Regions from separate parts of the Homo sapiens genome. Here all the other regions are linked to region 7. Evidence: promoter capture Hi-C in human tissues and cell types (Jung and others, 2019). All regions are on one chromosome and are shown on one strand. The core of a region is centred on a gene start or on the middle of the fragment in contact, and the rest is flanking DNA. Distances in the headings are between cores, read along the strand shown. Region 1 overlaps SAMD12 (sterile alpha motif domain containing 12). Region 2 overlaps LOC105375721 (a long non-coding RNA gene). Region 3 overlaps LOC105375721 (a long non-coding RNA gene). Region 4 has its middle 150 kb from the start of SNORD168. Region 5 overlaps LOC105375721 (a long non-coding RNA gene). Region 6 holds the start of LOC107986970 (a long non-coding RNA gene). Region 7 holds the start of EXT1 (exostosin glycosyltransferase 1).

What was found. The method cuts DNA at HindIII sites, captures the fragments that hold promoters and counts their contacts. A contact is called where the count stands out against the background at its distance.
Region 1: a fragment that was not itself captured here is called in contact with the fragment with the promoter of EXT1 in region 7 in 2 of the 25 tissues and cell types used here (adrenal gland and dorsolateral prefrontal cortex).
Region 2: a contact is called between a fragment that was not itself captured here and the fragment with the promoter of EXT1 in region 7, in 1 of the 25 tissues and cell types used here (aorta).
Region 3: a contact is called between a fragment that was not itself captured here and the fragment with the promoter of EXT1 in region 7, in 2 of the 25 tissues and cell types used here (liver and mesenchymal stem cells).
Region 4: a fragment that was not itself captured here is called in contact with the fragment with the promoter of EXT1 in region 7 in 1 of the 25 tissues and cell types used here (heart left ventricle).
Region 5: a contact is called between a fragment that was not itself captured here and the fragment with the promoter of EXT1 in region 7, in 3 of the 25 tissues and cell types used here (adrenal gland, heart left ventricle and lymphoblastoid cells).
Region 6: a fragment that was not itself captured here is called in contact with the fragment with the promoter of EXT1 in region 7 in 1 of the 25 tissues and cell types used here (dorsolateral prefrontal cortex).

The regions. Positions count from the first base shown.
Region 1 is chr8:118,567,720-118,571,252 of GRCh38, forward strand. The region is part of intron 2 of SAMD12 (sterile alpha motif domain containing 12); the gene reads right to left. Among named protein-coding and RNA genes, the nearest start is that of SAMD12-AS1, 52 kb to the right of the region's middle. The HindIII fragment of the contact is 5,474 bases long and covers 1-3,533 here.
Region 2 is chr8:117,705,207-117,708,708 of GRCh38, forward strand. All of the region lies in intron 3 of LOC105375721 (a long non-coding RNA gene), which reads right to left. Among named protein-coding and RNA genes, the nearest start is that of MED30, 190 kb to the left of the region's middle. The HindIII fragment of the contact is 3,619 bases long and covers 1-3,097 here.
Region 3 is chr8:117,668,947-117,672,840 of GRCh38, forward strand. All of the region lies in intron 5 of LOC105375721 (a long non-coding RNA gene), which reads right to left. Among named protein-coding and RNA genes, the nearest start is that of MED30, 150 kb to the left of the region's middle. The HindIII fragment of the contact is 3,719 bases long and covers 1-3,334 here.
Region 4 is chr8:117,765,707-117,769,384 of GRCh38, forward strand. No RefSeq gene overlaps it. Among named protein-coding and RNA genes, the nearest start is that of SNORD168, 150 kb to the right of the region's middle. The HindIII fragment of the contact is 3,110 bases long and covers 244-3,353 here.
Region 5 is chr8:117,686,562-117,690,146 of GRCh38, forward strand. The region is part of intron 4 of LOC105375721 (a long non-coding RNA gene); the gene reads right to left. Among named protein-coding and RNA genes, the nearest start is that of MED30, 170 kb to the left of the region's middle. The HindIII fragment of the contact is 4,702 bases long and covers 1-3,585 here.
Region 6 is chr8:117,737,875-117,741,979 of GRCh38, forward strand. LOC107986970 (a long non-coding RNA gene) reads right to left here and starts at 3,022. Exons shown (of 2, transcript XR_001746051.1): 1 at 2,929-3,022; 2 at 1-456. The HindIII fragment of the contact is 4,228 bases long and covers 1-3,395 here.
Region 7 is chr8:118,110,496-118,114,549 of GRCh38, forward strand. EXT1 (exostosin glycosyltransferase 1) reads right to left here and starts at 1,331. Exons shown (of 11, transcript NM_000127.3): 1 at 1-1,331. The coding sequence starts at 551. RefSeq lists silencers at 1,184-1,273, 1,374-1,753. The HindIII fragment of the contact is 7,998 bases long and covers 1-4,054 here.

The DNA of each region.
Region 1 (3,533 bases), core at 769-3,268, 460 kb after region 7:
AATTATCATTTGATCATATCTATTGTAACATTATCAGCAACAAATAGCAGTGTCCTTTGGTTTTACTGTTGCTTTATGAAAATTCCCTTTCTAATAAATGTAGACATTGTAGGTGTGATTTAAACAGCAAAATCCTTCCAGTTTGTTTTATATCTTAATAGCCTACCAGCCAGTTGAAGACTAAATGTATCCTATTATAAGAATTCATTCAAACAAATAGTTGAGTCCTTCCATGTATTAGATATGGCTGTTAGTATCAAAGACATGTCACTAAACATGGGGTCCTGCCTCACAGAGTTCACACTCTAGTGGATGATGACCTAAAATAATAATAAACATAAATTATGTATGGTTTTAGAAAGTGGTGAGTGTGTTAGTGGGGTAAAGAAATTACAAGACAGAATCAGGGATCAGGGGCCTTGGAAGAGAGGACACTATTTTAATAGAACTGACCATTTCAGCCTCACTGGGGAGGTGATACTAGAGCAAAGATTTGAAGGAAATGAAGGGGTGCACCTTGTGCATCCCAAGGAAAGAAGATTCAAGGCAGAGGTAACAGCCAGTATAAAGGCTTGGAGGTGGGAAGGTACCTGGTTTGAACTAGGAGCAGCAATGAGCATAGAAAAGCCTAGTAGCAGATGACAGGAGGGACTTGCCAAGGCACAGATCATGCAGGATCTGGTAGGGCACTAAGGACTTTGGCTTTAATTTGAGAAAAACAGGATGTGATTAGAGGATTTTGAGCAGAAGAGGGACATGATCTGACTCACACATTAACAAGATCATTCTGGTTGCTGAATTGAGGGTCATGTTTTATAATGAATATTGTGAAAACATTGCTTAAGAAGAAAACCCTCAAGTGAGAAAAACAAAATTGAGCCTGATTTTGAGAATTTAAAAAAATCACCTTGTACAATCCAAAGCTTTAATTTATGGGACTGTTTCAATGAAACTTCATCATGACCATCAGCAAGATGGCAAGTCCAGGAGTTATTGACTTTAGTCAGTTATTATTGGAGAGGAGGAAAGCTTATTGACTTGGGGGGAATATCACCATTAACACTACTACAGTAATAGCAGAGCTTGATAAAAGCGTATTTTGCTCCTTCACTGACCTCAGTTGAAAAAGCATATTTTCAGTATCATAAATACGCAATAGAACAACCACAGGAGCTGACAGCTGAGAAATTATTACCACTGCTCTGTAATGCCAATTTTAAAAAATTCTGCTTGGTATAATTTTAATTAAGTTGTAGTAAATAGGTATTCTTATTAATAGTTCAGATTTATTCTTGTATACTAAGATATTTGTTTTATGATGGTGATATTCAACTTCAGCCAATAGTGATTTAACACTCAGCCATTTGGCATTTGGCCAAAATGCAAATTTGGTGCAGGTTGAACAACCTTAATCTAAAAATCCAAAATCGAAATGCTCCAAAACCCAAAACTTTGAGTAATGACATCATGCCATAAGTAGAAAATTCTACTCTTGACCTCATATTATAGGCCAGTCAAAACACAGCCAAAAATTTGTTTCATGCACAAAATTATTTAAAATATTGTATAAAATTGCCTTCAGGCTATATATATAGGATGTATATGAAACATAAATGAATTTCATGCTTAGACTTGGATCCCATCTCCAAGATATCTCATTTGGATGAGATACTGAACTTGGAATATGCAAATATTCCAAAATCTAAAAAAAATCCCAAATCCAAAACATGTCTGGTCCCAGGCATTTCGGATACAGGATACTTAATCTGTATAAGTCAGACAAAATGTTTGTGCCTCCTAAAACTGATAGGTTGAAGCCCTAACCCCCAATAAGGTGTTGTTTGAAAGTAGGGCCTTTGAGAGGTAATTACGGGTTTAGATGATGTCAATGAGGGTGGAGGGCCCCATGATGAGAATGGCATCCACACAGAGGAGAAACAGACACCTTAGCTCACTCTCTCTGCCATATGAGAACACAGTGAAAAGGTGGTCTCTGCAAGACAGAAAGAGCATCCTCATTGGAACTGACTCAGCTGGCACCTTGATCTTGGATTTCCCAGCCTTCAAAACTGTGAGAAATAAATGTCTCTTGTTTAAGCTACCAAGTCTCCAGTAATTTGTTACAGCAGCTGAGGCTGACTAATACAGCATATATCTAAGGGTATGTGTGAAATCAACATTTGAAAACGATTTCTAATCCATACAGCCTTGGAAATAATATTTCAGGTTTTACTTGGCACCTGGTGATCCAATTTTTCAGTTTAAGTGAGGAGTTCCTAATCACTTAAAGAGAAAGAGAAGAAGCTGTTTTCCATTTCCTTCAAGTTTGGGCCAGATCAGGGAGATGGGGCAGAAATCACGGGAGCCAGCTGATGCTTACACCAGGGACCCTGAATAGAGCTTGCAGAGGAGGGTGAAAGAGCCACACCATCTGAAATCTTGGCCAACGCTAGAGGGTAGCAGAAGTCATAGGGCCTTATTCAGGCAATCAGAGACTTTAACTTTTAAGTTCAGGGGTACATGTACAGGTTTGTTATATAGGTAAACTTGTGTCAGGGGGCTTATTGTACAGATTATTTTATCACCCAGGTATTAAGCTTAGTACCCATTAGATATCTTTCCCAATCCTCTACCCCCTCCCATCCTCCATACTCTCACAGGGTCCCGTATGTGTTGTTCCCTTCTATATATCCATGTGTTCTCATGATTTAGCTCCCACTTATAAGTGAGAACATGTTGTATTTGGTTTTCTGTTCCTGTGTTAATTTACTAAGGATATTGGCCTCCAGCTCCATCCTTGTCCCTGCAAATGACATGATCTCATTCTTTTATACGGCTGCATAGTATTCCATGGGGATATATACCACATTTTCTTTATCCAGTCTACCATTGATGGGAATTTAGTTTAATTCCATATCCTTGCTATCGTGAATAGTGCTGCAATGAACATACGTGTATCTTTATAATAGAATGATTTATATTCCTCTGGGTATATTATACCCAGTTATGAGATTCCCGGGTCATATGGTTTGGCTGTGTCCCCACCCAAATCTCATCCTGAATTCCCACATATTGTGGGAGGGACCCAGTGGGAGGTAATTGAATCATGCAGGCAAGTCTTTCCCATGCTGTTCTTGTGACAGTGAATAAGTCTCACGAGATCTGTTGGTTTCAAAAAGAGGAGTTCCCCTGCACAAGCTCTCTTTGCCTGCTGCCATTCATGTAAGACATGACTTGTTCCTCCTTACCTTCCGCCATTATTGTGAGGCTTCCACTTCCAGCCACGTGGAAGTGTAAGTCCCATTAAGCCTCTTTCTTTTATAAATTGCACAGTCTCAGGTATGTCTTAATCAGCAGCATACAATAATACAATAAACTGTATTGTATAAATACAATAAATTGGTACTAGGAGTGGACTAATACAATAAATTGGTACTAGGAGTGGGGCGCTACTGAAAAGATACCCAGAAATGTAGAAGTGACTTTAGAACTGGGTAACAGGCAGAGGCTGGAACAGGTTGGAGGGCTCAGAA
Region 2 (3,502 bases), core at 38-2,537, 410 kb before region 7:
ATCTCTCCTTTCAGACCCTTTTCCATCTGAGCACCTATCCAGACATTAAAATTCGTATCTTCCTTTAAGAAATCTCCGTCACAAAGCCATCATCACCCTTGGCTCCAGCATAGATAAGTCTTACATGTGTGATCAGAAGTACCCTGGAGGGAGATAGGAGGTGGGGGAGAAACTAAAAGGGCATAAACAGAAAGTGTTCCTCAACATTTTCCCCCATTTTCACCTGATTCAGAAACACCTTGAGTTCATTACCAAATCCAGAAATTATTTAACACAGATGTACTTAAGGAGTTCTTGCCTTTTTGTCTGTTTCTCAAGTTGCCCTTCATCACCCTGAAGTCATGACCAGGTTTTTTAGCAGAAAAAGTCAACACCTGCAGCAGGCTTGGCCAAGGACTGAGCTCATCTCCTAGTCACTGGCTCCAGGTTCAGGTGCTGCTTCCTCCCACGCTTCTGCATGTCCTTGGTTTACAAAGCAGATCCTACTCACAGGGAGCTCAGGGAAGAACAGTTCCTTCATATTCAGCTCTTCCAAAGACAGTCTTTGGATAGGCGGCTGTAGCCAATATAGCACAGTATTCAAACCATCCTCTCCCAAATTCACATTGTTCTGCATCCCACCACTAATAGATTGTGGTGTTCCCAAGGGCTATGTTTTTAATTAACTCAATATTTATTGATTTCTATTGTATGGCAATCATTATACTTTTTTGTCTTTGTAATACCAGGTCTTGGTCATAAGAAGCATATAATAAGTGTTTGTTTTTCAATAAATGAATATTTCCTCACCTAGAAAGTGAGCTCTAAGAGGTCAGGAACTTGTGCCTGACACCTCCTGGGTGCTTAAAAATTCTTCGTTAAAATTAATTAATTAGTTAACTCGTGAGTAAATAAAATAATCAACCCATACCAAAAAACTTTGTAGCTGACAGTAGCAATAAGTAATACATCTGTACAATGAAAATATTTTGACTTTTGGAATTAGACCCAGATCCAAATTCTAGGTTTATCTATATGTCCCCATATATAGAAGGAAATCGTATTTATCTGATTGAATCATGAGGATTTAATGAGTTATTAAACATAAAATGCTTGGCATATTTAATGGATATAAAGTGCCTGGCTTTTCTAATGAGTCAAAGATGCTAGTTTCTCACCTTTATCTCCTGTTTCTGAATCTCAGTTCGTCATCCTTAAAATGACAATAATAATGGCTACTTCATCATGATGTTGTGAAGATTAAATTGCTGTGGAAAGTTCCTGAAACAGTGCTCAGCAAAAATCATCTCTATTTTTCTTACATTTCCCCTAATTTCATTATGTAGCTAATGTGTGAAGCTGGAAGAAAGAAGTGGATTAGCCATTCTTAAGAGTCTTGGGACATGTGTTTCTTAATCTTCAAGACTCCCTGGTCTTCAACCCTTCAACAGCTCCCTGGAAGAAGAGGTTGTAACCAAGACTGGTTGTGTCCTGAAATTGATGCCTCTCTTTTTCTCCAGTCTAGAAATCCCTGAGATTTAATACAAGGATTCTCAGAATAAAACTACATTCCCCAGCCCCTCTTGCTGTTAGCTGTGGTCATGTGACTGAGTTCCAGCTGACGGATTATGAACAGTAGTGATGAATGCACATCTAAGTCCTGCCTTTATAGGGGAGGAATGTGTGTCTTTCTCTTTCCCACTTCCTGTATCTGAAACGCAGACACAGTGGCTAATCATCTTAGACAATGTGGACAAGGGCACTGACCTCTGGAAAGCAGACAACAAGATAATAGTAGCTTAGTCCTTCCTGCTGCTATAACCAGGGTCTCAGGAATTTGACAGGAATTGGTGCAGGAATGTCTCAGTCTATTACTAAGTATTAGTAATACTCAATATTATTGCCACTATTACCCCAGACTATGTCATTCATAAACAATAAAAATGTATTTCTCATGGTTCTGGAGGCAGGGAAGTCCAATACCAAGGTGCAAACAGGTCCAGTATCTGGTGAAGGCCCTCTATTTGCTTCATGGGTGACATCTTCATCCTGTGTCCTCATGTGGTGAAAGAGTTAAGGGAAGCTCATTCCAGTCTCTTTTATAAAAGCACTAATCCTATTCATGAGGATGGAGCCCTCAAGACTTAATCATTTCCAAAAGTCCTGACCACTTAATACTATCACCTGGTGTATTGGGTTCTAACATATAAATTTTGGGGGTATACCAACATTCAGATCATAGAAGTAACCTAACTCCCCGAACCATGGAGAAATCATGTGAGCCCCTGAATGCTTATGTTCAGCTATCTGAGAGAGAAAGAAATGTTTCTCTTGCTTAAACTACAGATACTTGAGTCTTTGCTGTTTCAGATGAAACTAAATCTGATCTAATACAGAGGCATTAGGAGATCTTCGAATATCCAGGCATTGTTAATGACAAATCCTTACCTTAGGCACTTTTTAAGCCTCCCCCATAGGGATCCCAGCCACCAGGCAAGGCTAATCTGCTTGGTCGGCACTGCCTGCTCACCCTCTTACTGGCCCGCCTACCCAGAGATTTAAAGTTCCCACCTAGGCAACCAACCAGAATCCAATCTAGCCTTGAAAGCCCCTTCCAGAGCCAATCTTGTCAATGAAGCTTTCCCTGCTGAATGATAGCTCTCTGGGATCTCTCCCTTGTCTGAGCTCCATAGCAGCTGACTAGACCATCTGTTGTTTGGTTCCAACCCCATTCTGTTTTCTAGCCCATGGGTTTTCATCCCTATGCCCTTCCTCTTTATATTAACAAATTCATTAAGAATAAGATCCATGTTTTAGGCGTTTTTATCAGATGTTTGTATCTTTATCTGATTTTGGAAGTCATTTCTAACCATGAAGCATCATACTCTGTACTCTAGAAGTAAAGTGGACTTTAGAGATTGGTTTCTACATCTTCCTAAATTGTGATGTCTTCAAAGGCAAAAAAAAACTGTGTCACAATGAGCTCTGTGTCCACAGTAACTGATTCATGCATGTACCTCAGTCAATGCTTACAGATTGATAGATAGATGAATCTTAGCAGGCCCCCGTCATCTAGAATAATGTCTTGTCCTTAATGCCTACATGCCTCTATAAACTAATTACTTAATGTGGGTGTTGCCAAGGAAAGAAACTGTGAAAGGAAAATAAATTTTGGGTACCCCAAATCACTAAGCTAAAGGGAAAAGTCAAGCTGGGAATTGCTCTAGACTAACCTGCCTCCCATTCTATTCAGTCACCCCTCTGCTCACTGAGACAAATGCATATCTGATTTTCTCCTTTGGAGAGGCAAATCAGAAACTCAAAGGAACACAACCATTGGTCTCTTACCTACCTATGACATCCCGCCTTTGCTTCAAGTTGTCCCGCCTTTCCCAGAATGAACCAATGTTCATCTTACATATGTTGATTGATGTCTCATGTCTCCCTAAAATGTATAAAACCAAGCTGTGCTCTGACTGCCTTGGGCACATGTCATCAGTACCTCTTGAGGCTGTGTCATGGG
Region 3 (3,894 bases), core at 225-2,724, 440 kb before region 7:
ATAAGACGTCCCTTGCTTCCCTTTCACCTTCTGCCATCATTGTAAGTTTCCTGAGGTCTCCCCAGCCATGCAGAACTGTGAGTCAATTAAACCTCTTTCTAAATTAGCCAGTCTCAGGTAGTATCTTTAAAGCAGCATGAGAATGGACTAAAACATCTCTAAAACAGAGACATTATGAAAGGTTTTCAACTGGAGAACCAAGTCCTATAACTTGGTCGTTGCTATGTTTAGTGCCTTGATGAGAAAGACTGTGAAACTGAGGACAGGCTCAGCAGGGAAGAGGGATGTGATCCATTCTTGATGTGTGTGGTGAACTCAGGAAAGGCGGCAGCATCATGTATAGTATCTATTTACCTTCCCCACCCTTGAAGCTGCTAGAACTCTATCAGCATTTTCATCTTTCTTTGTACCATTTGGTCTGTCCCAAATCACAGAAGATAAATATTGAGCAAGCAGATGAGCAGAAAAACAACTTGGGCTCTTTCCCATGCCTCTACTACCTGTCTGTATCACATGAAGCTTTTTGAAAAAGGTCACAGAAAATGATTTTGAAAAGAGGCCCAGTAAATATTTTGGTAATGTTTTGGTGTGGGCTTTGTTTGGCCTTTTTGTCTTTGCTGAACTCCGTGGCTTGGGCTTTTAAGATACTTTTACCGTCAGAGTAATATTATTTTGATAACCCACTTCCTCGTGATGTTTGAAAGATGGTTAATTATTGTAGGGGGTGTAAATACAGTGTCAAAGTAAATCATTACAGGATTCTTTGGTCAGGCTCAAGGTTAAAGGCAACCACATTTCCCAACAACAGAGCAACATAATCATTCCTTTTCCCACAGATAACTACAGTCTTCCTGTCAGCCTACAGGAATCCCATCCCCTTTCCTCCAGTGTAACCGGACTCCCTGCCACAGAGAAACAACACTCTCCTCTTCAGCTTTGCCACAGGGTAATCAGTCATTGGTACACCAGCTTGATCCCCAAATGCTGCAGTAACCACAGAAACCACACAGAATGTGGACTGACCACGTGGTTGTGGACATAGTCATCATTTTTAACACAGAGAGATGAAGTCACTCCATCTTTTCTCTGATGCAGTAAAACATTAAAATACAACATTGGAAACAAATGCTTTTCCAATGTAGAAATGTATGCTGTAAAGCCAAGGCTCCATTCTACATCCCTGAGTAAGGGAAGGAAAGACCAATGAGACAAATTCCTGAGAGCCCGTTAAAAATTGGTGTAACCCATTCTCAGAGAAGATAATGGGGAGGTGACACTAAGGGGGTACAGAAGATTGTCATCTGCAGAAAAATCAGGCATGTTTTCCCAGAAGAGAGAAAGATTGAACTACCTCAATTGCAAAAATGTGGGAACCCCAAAGAAAGAGATACAGCAAATTCAAAAGCATTAAGAAATAATAAAGAAAAGAAAATCTTGGCTTTAAAGTGGCAATTTTTTTTTTCTAGTGACTGAACAGTAATCTTCTAAGGAGAATAGTGAGAGCCCCTCCCCAATAGAGTTTTAAGCTTTCACTGTGAAAAGGCTATTCTTGGCTCAGCAACCCAGCTGATTTATTCTCACCTTGAGGCAGTTCTGTAACCTTGCCTTCTACCTCAGCTTCCCAGTCAGCCAAGTGGGACTTCCGACTTGCAATCTGCTTCATTTGCTAGGATGTCATGAAGATTAATTAACAACATTAATATACTAAATGTTCTTTGGGATGGGCAGAGAGAAAGTGTAATTATGACCATTATTGCTCTGGGTTACTAGGCAGAGTATTGAGATGGTTGCAGGGACTGTGCTTGGAAGTAGAAAAACAGGCCAAACGGTGATCTTTGCATGGTTTCAAATGCCCCTGGCCTGAAAGTACTTCCTCTATATTCTTGCCCAGGGACTTAAAATGTTCACAATTATGCTAATATAGCGGAAAGTGCGTTGGACTTGGAGTCAGAAAGCTTGTATCCCATGCTGTCTTTGCCACTTACTGGCTGTGTGATCTTGTACAAACTACTTAATTGTTCCAAGTCTCAGTTTCTTCATCTGTGAAAAATGCATAAGGATACCACCAATGTCTATATGCCTTACAGTGTTCCTGAAAAATCTAAATGAAATGTGAATATTTCTAAAAATTGGACTGACTATACAAAGATAAAATATTATTATCTCCTAGAAAAAAAATGCTGTAACCATTATAGGCTATTTTATCCCCTACTACAAGTTAGTTTATGAGACACAATCCACCAACATAAGTACATCTAAGACAGACAATTTTTGGCTCTAGAGAAAGATCAGAAAGGGTAATATGGTTGTAAAACTGAGGACCTCAGTTAGCCAGGCATCTATGTGGGGTGCTTGGGTGTCAGTGAGAAGTCAGGGAGACATCAAATAGGAGCTGAACCTTTTGTTGTTTCCTGATGTGAGGCCTCCCTACAGGGAATGGAGGGCAAACTTGTAATGACTTACAATCTTTGTATCTTAAAATGTTAGTCCTGGAAAGGAATTAGAGATCATTCTAGTTCAATTCTTTCATTTTACAAAATAGAAAACTAAGCCTCCACCTTACCTTGAAAATTCCCTTCTTCCTGATGCTTAGACCAGGATTATTTCCATTGCACACCATCTCCAATATGCAACTAGTTATTAAGGTCTGTGGGTGCACTTGCATTGAATTATTACTCATACCCACATCTTCCTGACCTGGGTCCAAACCCCCAACATTATAAGTTTGGACTAGTACAACAATCTCATAGTCTATCTTCCTCTATTTTTTTTCTGACCCCTAATCTTCTCTAAACACTGATCCCAGATTAGCCTTCTAAAAGTGTCCACTGAATAATGCCTTATTTGCTCAAAAACCCATTAATGGCTGCTGTGTACAGAAGAGTGGTAGCAATACCTGCCTGCCTTATCTGAGTTATGGTATATTCTCTGTTCCTAAGGGGATGACACTGTATGCCATCATCCCTAGTGTTCCAGTTCTAGAAAGGGATTGACAAAAATGATAAATGCACCACTTTCCTGGGTTTGCTGTTCATCTTAAAAAGAAATCCAATTACAGTTTGCAATTGCATTTTGGTAAAACATAATGAGCTCTCCTTGGAGTTGCCTTATTCAGATCAAATTACTTCTTGGTAATTTAAAGTACATTACATCTCCCAGATACCTCTCAATACACCCACAGTGTTTGAGGCCTTGTGTAACTATTGCACAAACACTGGCCAGTCAACTCTAGATGAGTTCATAACCAAAGGATTATTACATGTTTACCCACATACAAGTCACTCTTCATTTCCCTCATGCAGGGAGGTCAAAGGTCATGTAACTCTGCCAGAGCAAGTTACTTCTCAGGGACTGAAAATGAGAGTTAAGGAGAGCTTTCTTCTAAAAACATTACTGCAGAGAGGTCTAAATGTGTGTGTATGAATGATCAACATTATCAGTCAATGAACTTTCTCGGTCAGTTACTCTCATGTATTGACATAAATGACACTGAGCCATCTGATGACTAATAAAAATGACAAACCCTGAAACATTGACCAAAACTCACAAGAATGACATTTCCTAAAGCATTTCCATTTATAGAAAAAGTTAGAAAAAAGCAAAGAGGAAAAAAAAGTATATGATGAGAAGCTGTAACAGTAAGAGAAAAGAAGTAGACCTGAAACTTTATAAAATGGCACATTGTCCCCTGATTTCTCCAAGAAAGTTCAATATGTAAAATGTCAACAGATCTGGGTATCACTAAAATTTTCTCCACTAATTTCTACAGGCCAGAAAGGTCATCTAAGACTTTAAAAGTGCAGAATGATGTAAGTTTTCGGGAGTATTATTCAGCCAAGAGTCTCATCAAGATAGCTCCCCCCCACTCCCCATGCAATGAGAACAATAGCCCTC
Region 4 (3,678 bases), core at 549-3,048, 340 kb before region 7:
TAGAGACACCACAGCACTTAAGCACTGACAGTATCAGGTTAGACTAGAAAGCGTGGGCTTCCACAGGGCAGAGGAAAATGGCCCAGGAAGAAGGGGTGAAGCCTCCCTCAAAGACAAAGCGTGCTATAAGGGATCCCAAATCCAATCAAGAACCTAAATCCCAACTCCATCCTCAATGCAGTTTCTCCCCCTCAATTCTTTTATTTTGTTAATGTCTTCATCATCTGTCAGATACTCAAGCTTGAAGCTTCACGGTTACATGTGACTTCTTCTCCCTTATCCCCCATTTCTGATCAGCTGTCAAGAGCTGTCAGTTCTATCTCCTTTACTCCTTTTCTTTCTGCCTCTTCCTCTCCATTCTATTTGCTGTCAGCCTAATTCAGACCCTCATTAACTCTTGTTGGATTATTAACATGGCTTCATCACTGGCCTATTCATCTCCTGCCCCTATGCTGTCCAACCACTCTATTAATTGCTGAATTGATTTTCTTTTTTTTTTTTTTTGAGATGGAGTCTCGCTCTGTCGCCCAGGCTGGAGTGCAGTGGTGCTAACTCGGCTCACTGCAAGCTCGCCTCCCGGGTTCATGCCATTCTCCTGCCTCAGCCTCCCGAGTAGCTGGGACTACAGGCGCTCGCCACCATGCCCCACTAATTTTTTGTATTTTTAGTAGAAACGGGGTTTCACTGTTTTAGCCTGGATGGTCTCGATCTCCTGACCTTGTGATCTGCCTGCCTCGGCCTCCCAAAGTGCAGGGATTACAAGGCATGAGCCACTGCGCCCGGCCCGCTGAATTGATTTTCATAAAGCACAGCTCCAATTCTGTCACTTCCCTGCTTACTGAAAAACTTTAAAAGTCCACTTTCCCTACAAAAACACATCACAATCCCTGTCTTAGATTTAAGAACTTTTGTGTTCTGATTTCCCCAGCCTTATCTTCTAACTCTCCCCTGAATATTCTCATTCTCACAAGACTTCTCAAAATTCCCCATATATACCCCACGTTTCCCTCTCTGATTCCTATCCAAGAGTTACTCTGTACCTGGAATCCCTCAAATCTCCATTTCCACCTACCATTTATCCTCTTAGATCCAGCTGTTATGTTATGGCCTTGGAGGACATATTCACCAGTTGTGATCTATCCATCTTCTGAAAATCCAGTAAGTATTACCTTTCTGCTGTTGCACAAACATCTCTATTTTTCAATTATAAACCATAGCTTTCCCACTGTATTCAACTCATTTTATCCATTAATTATACAAATATTTATTGAGTGGGGTATTATTACTGCTACAGGCACTAGAGACATCATAATGGATGTACAAAACAGACCAAAACCCCCACTATCTTAGAGCTTACATTTTATTAGAGGAGAAAACAATAAGATTAAGAAGAAAAATCTGTAATATATTAGGTAGTGGTGAGTACAATAGAGAAAAGAAAAATCTGAGAAAGGGAAAGGAAGTGTTAGCTCAAGGGGTTTGACATTTTAGATGCAGTGGTCAGGAAAGCACTCATTGAAAAGATGACTTGAAGTGAAATTCTGAAAGAAGTGAGAGAGCCAACCATGCAGATATCTTGAGGTAAGAGTACTCAAGGCAAGGGAAACAGAAAATGTGAAGGCTTTGGAGCAGAAGCTTGCCTGGTGTGCTCAAAGAACAGGAATGGGACCTGCATGGAATGAACATAACAGAGTGTCCCTGGATGTAAAGATTGTAATTAAAGACAATGATGGACATAGAGTAGAATATCCCCAAAAGCAGACATAAAATAGTATCTATTGAAATATTGAACATTTTAAATATATTTCTGTGCTTTTATGTTGATATGGTTTGGGTTTATGTCCCTGCCCATATCCCATTTCAAATTGTAATCCCCAATGTTGGACAAGAGGACTGGTGGGAGGTGATTGGATCATGGAGGACAAATTTCCCCCTTGCTGTTCTTGTGATAGTGGGTGCGTTCTCATAAGATCTGGTTGTTTAAAAGTGTGTAGCACCTCCCCCTTCTCTCTCTTCCTTCTGCTCCAGACATATAGGACATGCCTGCTTCCCTTGCACCTTCTGCCATGATTGTGAGTTTCCTGAGGCCTCCTCAGCCATGCTTCCTGTGCACACTGAGGAACCACAAGCCAATTAAACCTCTTTTCTTTATAAATTATGCAATCTCAGGTAGTTCTTTATATCAGTGCAAGAATGAACTAACACAGAAAAGTGGTACCAAGAGTAGGGTACCTGAAAATGTGGAAGAAACTTTGGAACTGGGTAATGGGCAGAGGTTGGAAGAGTGTGGAGGGCTCAGAAGAAGACAGGAGGATGAGGGAAGGTTTGGAACTTCCTGGAGACTTGTTAAATTGTTGTGGCCAAAATGCTGATAGCGATATGGACAATGAAGTCCAGGCTGATGAGGTCTCAGATGGAGGTGAGGAACTCATTGAGAACTAGAGCAAAGGTCACTTTTGTTAAGCATTAGCAAAGAGATTTCAGCCGTTATGCCCATGCCCTAGAGATCTGTGGAATTTTGAACTTGAGAGAGATGACTTAGGGTATCTGGTGGGAGAAATTTCTAAGCAGCAAAGTGTTCAAGACATGGCCTGGCTGCTTCTAACAGTGTATGCTTATATGTGTGAGAAAAGAGATGATCTAAAACTGGACTTATATTTAAATGGAAAGTAGAACATGAAAGTTTGGAAAATTTGCAGCCCAGCCATATGGTAGAATATTAAAAACCCATTTTCTGGCGAGGAATTCAAGCTGGCTGCAGAAATTTGCACAAGCAAAGAGGAGCCAAATGTTAATAGCCAAGATAATGGGGAAAATTCCTTGAAAATTACAAAGACCTTCACTGCAGGCCCTCCCATCACAGGCCTGGAGGCCTAGTAGGGAAGAATGGTTCTGTGGGCCAGGCCCTGCTGCCCTGCTGCCCTGCACAACCTAGGGACACTGATCCCTGCAACCCAGCCACTCCAGCTCCAGCCATAGATAAAAGGGCCTAAGATACACCTTAGGCCATTGCTCCAGATGGTGCTAGTTGTAAGCCTTGGTGGCTTCCACATGGTGTTTAGCCTGCAGGTGCACAGAGGGCAAGAGTTCAGGTTTGGGAGCCTCTGCCTAGATTTCAGAGGAATGTATGGAAATGCCTGGATGTCCAGGCAGAAGTCTGCTGCAGGGGTGGAGTCCTCATGAAGACCCTCTATTATGGCAGTGCAGAGGGGAAATGTGGGGTTGGAGCCCCCACATGGTGTCCCCACTGGGGCACTGCCTAGTAGAGCTTTGAGAAGAGGGCCACCATCCTCCAGACCCCAGAGTGGTATATCCACTGACAGCTTTGCACCATGGAAAAGTTTTAGGCACTCAATGCCAGCCCTTGAGGTCAGCCATGGGAGCTGAGCCCTGCAAAGCCACAATGGTGGAGCTGCACAAGACATTGGTAGGCCACCCCTTGCAACAGTGTGGCCTGGATGTGAGATATGGAGTCAAAGGAGATTATTTTGGAATTTTAAGATTTAATGGCTGCCCTGCTGGGTTTCAAACTTGTGTGGGGCCTGTAGCCCTTTTGTTTTGGCTGATTTCTCCCTTTCAGAATGGCAGTATTTAGCCAGTGCCTATACTCTCATTGTATCTTGAAAGTAATTAACTTGTTTTTTTTTTTTTATTTTACAGGCTCATTGGCAGAAGGGA
Region 5 (3,585 bases), core at 1,052-3,551, 420 kb before region 7:
ATAAGAAAGTGCCAAGAATCAGAATAAGAGACGCATCATTCTGACCCTACCTTTAAAGCTCTGCCCAGCCCCTTAAATCTGTGCCGCTTATGCCCACACACTACCTTAATTATTTGGAGAAACAAGACTTTCAACTTTTCTCTTTCAGCTCATCCTTTTCTTCAGTTCCATCCTTTTTTTTTTTTAAAGTGGTGTGATCATGGCTTACTGCAATCTCAGCCTCCTGAGTTCAAGTGATTCTCCTGCCTCAGCCTCCCAAGTAGCTGGGATTACAGGCACATGCCACCACACCCAGTTAATTTTATATTTTTAGTAGAGATGGGGTTTCACCATGTTGATCAGACTGGTCTCCAACTCCTGACCTCAGGTGATCCACCCACCTCGGCCTCCCAAAGTGCTGTGATTACAGGTGTGAGCCACTGCACCCGGCCAGTTCCATCCTTTTTAGAAACACCATGGAATATTAAGAGGATGTGAAACTCCAAGCAGTTGATTTCTCTGCTTATTTAAAGTGAAGATAAATGGCTTGTACATGATAAATATTTTTGGATGGATGGATGGGAGAATTAAACAAAGAGAATTAAACAAAGAATTAAACATTGAATAGAAACCCAGTGGTAGATCACTGTCCATGTCTCCTATGGGTCTGTCAGGACTGGCTGTCTTACTGGTAACATGCAATACGGTGTTATAATTAAGTGCACTGTCTTTGGATTAGGTGGCTTAGGCTCAGTCCTCCTTCTACCACTTACTAGCTGTGTGATCTTGGGCAAGTGACTTGTCCTCTCTAAACTTCAGTGTATTGTCTTTAAAACTAGAAATAATAATAGCACTTAAACTAGGGGTAATAACAGCATCAACCCACAAAGGTGTTGTGAAATAATGTACCTGCTAAGTACAATGTTCAATGCATAAAAATGCCCAATTAATAGCAATTATTTCACAGGAAATAATATCAGGTTTGGTGGCTTGAAACTTGCCTTCCAATATCTTTTGGGGTAAAACTTGACAGGCATTTTTTTCTTCCAAAAGGCAAGACTTTGGGGAACATGAGAGGCAAATGGCAGATTTTATTTAGACTGGCAAGGAAGAAAGAAAGGGAGAGAGGGAGGAAATATAAAAAGATAACCTTTCCTCTTCTGAAAATCACACATCAATTTTTTTTTATACAAAATAGGGTCCTTCTCTATCATCCAGGCTGGAGTGCAGTGGCATGATCATAGCTCACTATAACGTCAAGCTCCTGGGCTCAAGTGATCCTCCTGCCTTGGCCTCCCAAAGTGCTGGAATTACAGGTGTGAGTCATCACACTGGGTCATAACATTTCTTTATATTCATGTGACTCCAAAGGTTTAGCTACCAGTGATGAAGTTATCCCAATTACAATTCTTAGACAGGAAAGGAAATGCAGTCAACTTCTGAGAAAATGGGTTGACTCTCTAGAAAGTCTGGAGGGTGTAAATGGCCCATGTTCTGAAGAGGGAACATTTCAAGCTTATGAGCTAGGCTCACCTCAACCAAAGAGCTCAGCTAATACAATATATCCTTAGAGCTTAGTTTGTTTCTGGACATTTGGATTATTTATTTATTTAAGTATTTATTTTAGTGCATCAGAATCAATGTAGTACATCAGAATCAATGTAGTACATCAGAATCAAAGAATTGAACTAAAATGAAAATCAAAGAATTTTAGTGCATCAGAATTAGTATAGCACTTTGAAGTTAGACAAACCTTAATTTGAATCCCAGCTCTAACATTTAATAGTTGCATGACCTTGGGCAAATTGTTGACAGCTGTACACTTCAGTGTGTTTGCGTGTAAAGGGGAGGTGATACTGTTACCTTTTACATCCACATGTTGGGATGATTAAACAAGGTCATATGTATAAAGCACTCTATTCAAGACCTGACATACAGTAAGCACTCTATAAATATTGGCTATACTTATGTCTCATTGATATTATTATTTTCATAATGTTTCTTGTCTACTTCCTTAATGAAGTGCGTAATACTCTTCTTGGGCATTAACACAGGCTCCACCTGGCCTGTAAGTGAAACAGGGAGAGCCCTAGGCTTTTGCTTTGTTTTGCACAGAGCCTGCACAGAGCCCACCCAAGTAAACAAAATCTCCTCTTCTTTCTCTCCATTTTAATTTTTCTTTTATTCCATGCCCTATGAATAGATTAGTTTCTTTCTCTCTCTTTGCCGAAATACCTTCAGGCCTCCTCTCCTCCCTTCAGGCAAAAGTCCTTAAAACCTCCACTTTCCCCCAGTAATATTTTTCTCCAACTAACTGGAAGTGGAGAAAGATTTTCCTCTTTGTCTAGCACTGATTTTTGACTTGTAATTCCATTTCAACAAAACCACTTGCACTAAAGCTTACACACAATGTAAATAATTCATTAGAAATATATATTTGCTTGATGCTTATATACTTGCAGTGCATCTGCAGAGTCTATTGTATCAGTCAAGGAAATAACAGGACTCCCAGTCACCAAGGTGAATGGAAAATTTTCCTCTTTAAATAGGTAAAAATTTAAGTTGCATGCAAATTAATCTTGGAAATACAGAATGCTAACATAGCAGGGGACTTTAAAATGTGTATATTCTAACACTCTCTATAAATGTGGAAAATAAGTCCCAGAGCATGGTAACATGGCCATAACAGGCCTTGTAGCATTCTGGAATTTAAAAGGCTAGGTGCATAGAAGGGAAAATAGATACGAATGGCAAAGGCAGGTACATAATGCCTAAAACCAGGATGTGGTGTAGCAGTTACCATCGTCATCATCATCATCATCACAATGACAATCAATGGTAATGGCTACAATTTGGGAATTATGATCTTGGCACTAAGCAGAGGTCTTTACATTTATCTAGAAAGATGACCATGGGTAACACTGCATAAGACTGACTGATTTAGACTTTGAGAATTTTGCCAGTTTTGGGTGGCTGTGAGATATCTTGTCTGACCATAGGGCTAGATCATACAGCTACAAGAGAAGGTGGGATTTCTTCAGAAGGGAATGGACATTGCCACTGTAGTTCATCCCAGGCATTTTTCAACCTGGAAAGGGAATAGCTACACTCCAGTTAGAGGTCCTAGGCCAAGGCAAAGGAGAATCTCCTGCCCCACTCTGGCACCGAGAACCAGTTTGGTTTCTACTCCAAGGATGGGTGATATCTGAATTCCTCCCTGTGTGGTGGGAACCTACCATGGGCTCCATAAGAGCAGGCTAGGAATAAGGTTCATTGAAGGATGCCAAATAAAAAATCTTGTGGCATGTATAAGTTGTCCTCTGTGGTGTTTTTCAGTTCCATGCCCCAGGACTTCAAGACACCGATCTGCAATTGTGCCAGAGGATGTTAGAGAGGCAACTATGCCCTTGCTTGGGAGAAAACCACATGAGCAGACCATGTCTTTTCACCCAAGGCCAGAGGAGAGGAAGCAGAAGACACATTTCCCGGTGCCTGATTATTCCTTCCTCCAGGGCTTACGGTTGTCATTTTGGGCCATCTCACATAGAAGAGGTACCCAAATGTTTGTCATCTCTCCCTGAAAGCGTGTCTAGTCCTCAAATAGAG
Region 6 (4,105 bases), core at 32-2,531, 370 kb before region 7:
TATTTTTGAAATCAATTTAAAGTACCCTTGATATCCCTTGAAAGTTTTGTAAGATTTAACCCCTTAGGGGAAGAGTCAGAGGGCCTCTCTTTACACCTTACATCCCTCACCCTTTCAATCCCTTGGGTAAGAAGAGACATCTGAAAGGTTGAGATGCAGTCTTTACTCTGAGAACCTCCCTCCAAAACTGCTTCAACTGCTGACAGCTCACAAGACAGAACGTTGAGTTAATACCCAATATTAAACAAAGTCAAAAATCAAATACATCAATCACCTAACTAAAAGCACATTTCAAAGGAAGACATAGCCAACTGGATGGCAATCCTGAGCAACACTTGCCTTGGCAGGTATCTGATGAAGACACTGCTCTGTCTTGCTTCCAAAGTCCTTCTAAGCAGGCAGCTTGGCAGGCCAGTCTTGGATGGAGAGGGATGCCTCCAGTTTCCGGAGCCAGAGCTGAGGAAGGAGAAAGTAGACCACCTGCAGGCAGTACAACACTACTTCATACTTCCCTAATGCCTCACTCACATTAGCACACTGATCTTGCCTATGACCTTCACTGAGCTAGATCAAGATCCCCATGCTGCAGTGGGAAAACAAATATCCATTGTCTACTGATACCCACTGGGTCACTTTTGCTTTTGAATTCTTGAAATCTGGATTCCCTCTCAGTGTCCTCTAGGTTACCAGTACACTTATCCCCTCCAAATCAGGGCATAGTTGCAACTAAGCAATTAAGAGAAGACTGGAGACCAGTGGGATTGGAAGGTAATGGTGTCACTGGAGTTTCTAGGCTTTTATCTATCCAGACCTCTCCAATGTCTTGTCATGCATCAATTCTCTCATCCGATCTTTTTGGGAATGCCCTCATCCTGGGTTACCAAGGAGCACCTGAAGCAGAGGATAAGTGAATGCCTTTCTCAAGGCACAGGGCAAGACATTGGTGGTCTTGATTTGCTCCATCAACCCCACCTCCCAGATTTATGTTTGAACTGTTTGATCCTGGTGCTCACATGCAGGAACAGGACACTGGAGTGTGAAACGACAAAATACACCTCTTTCCTAAAGCAAAGCAATCTATCTTGAGCACAAAGCTTGTCATGACACTAAAGCAAATCAGTGTAAACAAGGGCAGAGATGAGAACCATAATGAAGAGTTTGAGAAATTGTAAAGTGGTCCTGAAAGGAAGTGGTACCTCTTGAGAATAGTCCTATAAAGTGTATACCTGTCACTAAAAGATGCCCAAGACACTGACCTTAAGCCAATTACCATGTGTAGATCTGCTGTAACCAAAGAAGGTCACAGATATTCGATTCTGCAAAAAGCAGCTTTTAAAAATAAAAGTCAATTCTTGGCATGTGTTGCAATACTTCCCCTGTTCCAAACATAATACTGAAGCCACCCACAGGACCGCTGTCTTAGCCAAATACAGTAAGGAAACAAGCCTTCTCGGGAAAGGCCCACATGAATAGTATCCAAGGGCCAAGGTCAGGTATCAATGCAAACCGGCTGCAAAATCTCCTCTTCTAGCACCACTGGGCATACTGTAGCTGAGTAAGCCAGCGATACTCTGTCCAGCTTTCTCAAAGTGCTGCTCATAAAGACAATTCCATAGACTACAGGGACAGATGTCCGCTGGCACTCAGAACTTCAGACTCTGGGGAAGGCTCTGCCCAGTTTTTGCCTGTGAACTCAATCTCTATAAAACAGAGTTATGGCAATTGAGAAAAAGGCCTCTCATACAGTCTCCATGTAATCCAGAGTATCTGCTTTCTGAAATAATTTACTGATCTTTTCCCTATACAATTTTTTTTTTTGAGACAGGGTCTCACTCTGTTATCCAGGCTGGAGGGAGTTCAGTGGTGTGATCACGGCTCCCTGCAGCCTCAACCTTCCAGGACCAAGCAATCCTTCTACCTCTTTCCCCCAAGTAGCTAGGACCACAGGCATGCACCACCATCCCCAGTGAACTTTTTTATTTTTTGTAGGGAAGAGTTCTCCCTATGTTGTCCAGGCTCGTCTCAAACTCCTAGGCTTAAATGATCCTCCCACCTCGGCCTCCCAAAGTGCTTGGATTACAGGCGTGAGCCACAATGCCCAGCCCTATAATTCTCATTGTCATAGCTAGATCATTACATGCAGGAGGGCAGAGACGATCCAGCTCTAGAAGCAACTTTAAGCCATTAGGACTGACTGCTTCCCTCCAAACTTACCACACACTTGGGTTCAAAAAAACGGGACCATATTTCAATGTTTTGCATTATTCATGCCATAGTCCTGAACTATTCACTCTAATTCATCTCATTTCTTGTTTCCTGCACTATTTTTCCTGGCTTTTAACCTTCTAGTCTGTCTTCTGACGGATGATCTTTCCTTGCTTCTTGAATTGGGTCCTGAACCTGAGACCTTCTTCAGCAGTGGGTAAGAGAACTGGCTTTGAAGCCAGTTTTTCTTTCTTTTTTTCATATTATACTTTAAGTTCTAGGGTACATGTGCACAATGTGCAGGTTTGTTACATATGTACACATGTGCCATATTGGTGTAACTCATCATTTACATTAGGTGTATCTCCTAATGCTATCCCTCCCGCCTCCCCCACCCCACGACAGGCCCCAGTGTGTGATGTTCCCCTTCCTGTGTCCAAGTGTTCTCACTATTCAGTTCCCACCTATGAGTGAGAACATGTGGTGTTTGGTTTTTTGACTGGATTAAGAAAATGTGGCACATATACACCATGGAATACTATGTAGCCATAAAAAAGGATGAGTTCATGTCTTTGTAGGGACATGGATGAAGCTGGAAGCCAGTTTTTCTAAATTCAAATCCTGATGCTGTCATTTATTAACAGTATGATCCTGGACAAGTTATTTTAATTTTCTAAACTTTAATTTTCTTAACTGTAAAGTGGTGCTCATAATAGCACCTACCTCTTGGTCTGCAGTCCAGTGCTCCTGGCCGGGCGCGGTGGCTCATGCCTGTAATCCCAGCACTTTAGGAGGCGGAGGTGGGTGAATCCGCTGAGGTTAGGAGTTCGAGACCAGCCTGGCCAACATGGCAAAACCCCATCCCTACTAAAAATACCAAAAAAATAAAATAAAAATAAATAGCCATGCGTGGTAGTGCACATCTGTAGTCCCAGCTACTGGGGAGGCTGAGGTGGGAGAATCACTTGAACCCAGGAGGCGGAGGTTGCAGTGAGCCAAGATTGTGCCACTGCACTCTAGCCTGGGCAACAGAGCAAGACTCCCTCTCAATAATAACAATAATAATAACAATAATAGCACCTACCTCTTGGAATTCTTGAGAAGATAAAATGGTTTATATCCAAAACAATTAGAACAACAACCCAGCGCAGCTGAATTGCTCAATAAATGCTAGCAGTTGTGAGGCATTTTTCAGCCACCTCTACAGCCATGTGGACACTTTAGTCAGCCTGAGAGAATACCCAGTACAGGTCATCTCCCAGATATTTTATACCTGATAATCCATGCTAGGTTCACTCAAGCAAACAGAGAAGAAAGCATTTATTTCTCTTTGCTCTAACACAGAGGAAAGCATTATGATAAGAGCTAAGATTTTCTTATCCAGTGATTAATTTCTTATTGGATCCAGCTATTTAAATGGAGCTCCACAGAGAGTTAGTTAAATTAAACACAAAATTTCTTCTTTTTTTTTTTTTTGTCAAAGAAACACTTGCCTTGCTCTTCACTATATAGTAAAACTCACTAATAAACCACAACATGTCTTACATGTCTGTTCCTGATCTCCATACTTGAGTGGTCACCAAGAAAGTATTGTACATTCAATCCATAGCATTTAATTTCCATGGACCCTGCCTTTAACAGGTTATTATCTGGTTGTTAAGAGAAGACTAACACATAAGACATTATCAAAGAACAATAGAAGGTATATAATTAAGCACTGAGCCAAGTAAATGGTGCCGATTATAAATTCAGTAGTTCTGGAAAGGACACATCAGGTAATGGGTTATAGTAACTCACCTATTCACTCAACAAACACTTACTGAGTACCATCCAAGTGCCAGTTTCTGTGCTAGGCTCTGAACGTAGGTGGAGGACATTGGGATCTTTCTTCCCTGCAGTC
Region 7 (4,054 bases), core at 81-2,580:
CACAAGTGGAGACTCTGCACTTTGGATCTCAAATTGTGCACATACTGAGGTGACAACTGGTCTCTGTCTAAAGTATCCAGACTCAGGACAAAGAGGCACGCCTGGCTGGGGTCCGAGGTGTAGAACCTGGAGCCCTCGATGGCCGCTAGAATGTTTTGGTAACTTTCGGCGATTTTCTCCCCTTTTTGCTGTGGGTATACGTAGACTTTGAAGCCGTTTTTCTTGCAAAGGGTGAAATCGAAGCAGGACTCCATGCGGCACTTCTTGCCTTTGTAGATGCTGGAGTTGGCATCTCGCTTCTGCCGGGGGGAAATGTGCACGCTGGAATCCTCGTTTTCCAATTGATCCCAAGGAACGAAGGGGCGCAGAGCGTCCGGGAAGCGGGGCCAGAAATGATCCGGACTGGGGTGGTGCAAGCCATTCCTACCGCTGTGTTCTTCTCTCCGGCTGTGGCTCCTCGATGCCCTAAACTGCAAGCCTCCGAAATAAAACAAAAGGGCGAGACAAGAGCCAGCTGAGAGCAGGATGAAATAGCGTTTTTTGGCCTGCATGTGTCCTGCCTGGGTCAAGAGGATTGTAAATAAACACAAGAATCACCCAAGTTTCCCAATCAACACTTTCAGCTCCAGTCCGCCATCTTCCCGCCTGTAAAGACTTCAAACTCTCCGCTCCCACCTTCTCTGGATGCCTTTCCCCAAGCCGTGGACTGATCCAGCGCATGTGGGCGATTTCTTTAACTTTCTCCCCTTCGGTCTTTCATCTTTGGGTTGCACAATGCACGGGAGAGAGCGGGGCTGAATATCTCGCACCCAGGGCGGGCGAGCAGCGGACTGTAATTTTCTTGCATGCAACAAGACGGAGGAAAAGAAAGAGAGAGGGGAGAAAAAAAAAGCTCCCGATACCCAATCAATGGCAAGACGAAGTGATTGCCTTGCCTCTCGGATTCCTCTCGGCAGCGTGGAAAATGAGCCCCGGGAAGGCAACTTCAACTCATCCACCACTCTCCGTGCAGAGCACTCCGGTTCCAACAAGTCAGCCGATCCCGGGTTCAGCCGGCTAGTGCATCTTGCAGCTGGGGCGCCGTAACCTCACAAATCCCTGCATCTCTCTTTATTCCCTTCTGCAGCGGCTCCAAGACTCCGGCGGTGTTTACTCCTGCGCTCGCGGGGCCGGCCCCCGGGACGCGCGGCGGCCCGGCTGGAGGCGGCGGCGGCGGCGGCGCTGGGTGGCGGCGGCGGCGCGTCCTCCCCGCGGGCAGTGCCGGCCCCGAGCAGCGCTTCGCAGGCCCCCGCGCGAACGCTGCCGACCGCCGCGTTCGGTCGCCGAATGTTACCCGGTTCTGAATGTTACACTTACACATTCCATTCCCGACACGACAGCGCTGACCTCATCCATCCACGCAGCCCGCGCTGCCATTGGCCGAGCGTCACGTCCGGGGGGGGCGGTGCTTCCGCTGCGCCCATTCATAACCCCCGGCCGCGGGCCGAGGCGCCGGCGCGGCGTTGGGGGCGTAGGGGGCGCAGGGAGCCGGGGCTCCCGGGTTGCAAGCTGCCGGCGGGCTGCCGGGCAGGTGGAGCGCGGGACGGCCCGGTGCGAGCCCCGCGGCCCCTCGGCGCGCCCAGGCCCGGATCTCGGCCTGCGCCGTGCCGGGGACCAGAGGCGCCTGCGGAAACGCGGCGGCCGGGGAAGGAGGCACCGGCAGGGGCCCCGTGCCGCGCGGCCCCGGGCGCCCTGGAGAATCTGGCCTCCTGGGCTGCCTGCCGGAACGCCTAGAGAAAGATGCTTTGAAGGAGGGAAGCAGGGAGGAAAGGAAGACTTCATAGAAAGCGACCGCCGATCCGAAAGCTGCCTCTCCCAGCCCTCCTTCCACTCTCCGAGACCCAGTATTTCAATTTTCTGCTAAGCATTAAAACAATCTCCCCTTACTCCTCCTCTACATAGCACATTTTTTTAAACCAAAGAAACACCCCAATGCCCAACAATAAAGAGGAATTATTACAATCAAGAGGAATTGTTGCAATTCTTCATGCCTGCCTCTGTGCTAAGAGTGTAAGACGGCTATCCTAAATCCTCATTATCTACTTAGGCCGCCTTGCCTGAGCCCCCTCTGTCTATTATGAAGAAAGCTTCCAAGAGATCCAATCACAGAGAAAAAATAAATTTTCTAATGGCTGCAGGGAAACCAGTTAATTTAAGCTTGCCCCAGTCCTCAAAGTGATGTTATTCTCTTGGTGGTGGTGGTGGTGGTGGTGGTGTTAAAGATATCTCTTAAGGACATATGACTGGTAGAATTGCCAACTGTCCCAGCTATAGAAGGAACACTTGCATCAGGAAAACTACCTTATGTACAATTAGTGCCAAATAGTTGGTCCTTCCCTCACTGACCTCCCACTCCTTGGCCCAAGCTCCTGCCACTCCCAGTGGAAGAACTTCATTAGATAACTCAGGTAACCGAGGAGCAGTCCCGCTAAAGATCCTCCAGGTCCACAAAGATGTGCTAGGCTCCCAAACAGTATCTCTGGTCAAAGTCAAACTCCCTGGCCTCAGATCCTGAACACTGCTTTACAGAAAACACCTCCCACCCTCTGGCCTAGCTAAAGTCTCAGGGCTCGGGCAAGCTAGACAGTTGCCTAGGGCAGCCGGCTGTTTAGTGATTGTTTATTATGGGAGTGACTGAGAGCTAGGAGCAGACACTTCCCGGCTTCCCTCAGGCTGCAAAAACCCCAGCGGGGTGTGGATGAAGGGCAGGGTTATAACAAGGCAGTATGAAATGATAGAGTGGAAAGTTTCAGACCTCTGTTGTTTCAGATTTGTTTTAATAAAGCAGGGAAGGGGCATGGGTGGGACATTACTATACATTCGTGAAGCCTCTCCCTATTTCTGACCTGCCAAAGATGAGACAGCTTTTCCAGATTTGACTTGAACCCCCTGCACAATGTAGAGAGGCCTGGGACAGGAATAAGGATTCAGTCATCTTCCAAATACAGTGACAATGATGCAGATAAAGGCAGTGATTGAAACCACATGTGACCCAAAGCTCCCCCCAGCCCAAGTTGCTAAGAACAACAGTTCAAGGCAGGAGGCCTTCTCTTCTGATCAGGGTGCAGATTATCTCAGCCCTGTGAAGTGGGGCTGTGGGACTGGAGGTGCTCTCTCTCTCTCTCTCTCTCTCTCTCTCTCTCTCTCTCTCTCTCTCTCTCTATATATATATATATATATATATATATATATATGCTGGAGTGCAGTGGCAGGATCTCGGCTCACTAGAAACTCTGCCTCCCAGATTCAAGTGATTTGCCTCCCTCAGCCTCCGGAGTAGCTGGGATTACAGGTGTGCACCACCAGCCCTGGCTAATTTTTGTTTATTTTTGGTAGAGATGGGGTTTTGCTGTATTGGCAAGGCTGGTCTCGAACTCCTGACCTCAAGTGATCTGCCCACCTTGGCCTCCCAAAGTGCTGGGATTACAGCATGAGCCACCTCGCCTGGCCCCTCTATATCTTGCCAGTTGTTTTGCATGACCTTAGGGGGAGCTAGCTACCCTCCTTGCTCTTTTGTGTTCTGTTTATGTTTTGGCATGTGCTTCCTGCTTTTCTTGCCTAATTATGGCTAATTTCCTTATCCCAGACCCCAGTGTTACCCATCTCTACTTGTACATCCCAAAGTGTTGTGTACTGTCAGAAAAACTTTGGTGCTGACAATTAGAGAAAACTTGAATTCAGACCCCAGATCTGCCATTTACTAGTACCTTGGGCATGTGGCTTAATTTCAGTGGACCTCCAGTTTCTCGTTTGAAAAGTCAGGATAATAATATCTTTCTTGCCAGCAGTTTTTTTTTTCTTTCTTTTCTTTTTAACAGAGTCTTGCTCTATTACCCAGGCTGGAATGTGCAGCAGTGTGGTCTCAGCTTACTACAACCTCCACCTCCCGGGTTCAAGTGATTATCCTGCCTCAGTCTCCCGAATTGCTGGGATTACAGGCAACCGCCACCATACCCGGCTAATTTTTGTATTTTTAGTAGAGATGGGGTTTTGCCATGTTGGCCATGGCTGGTCT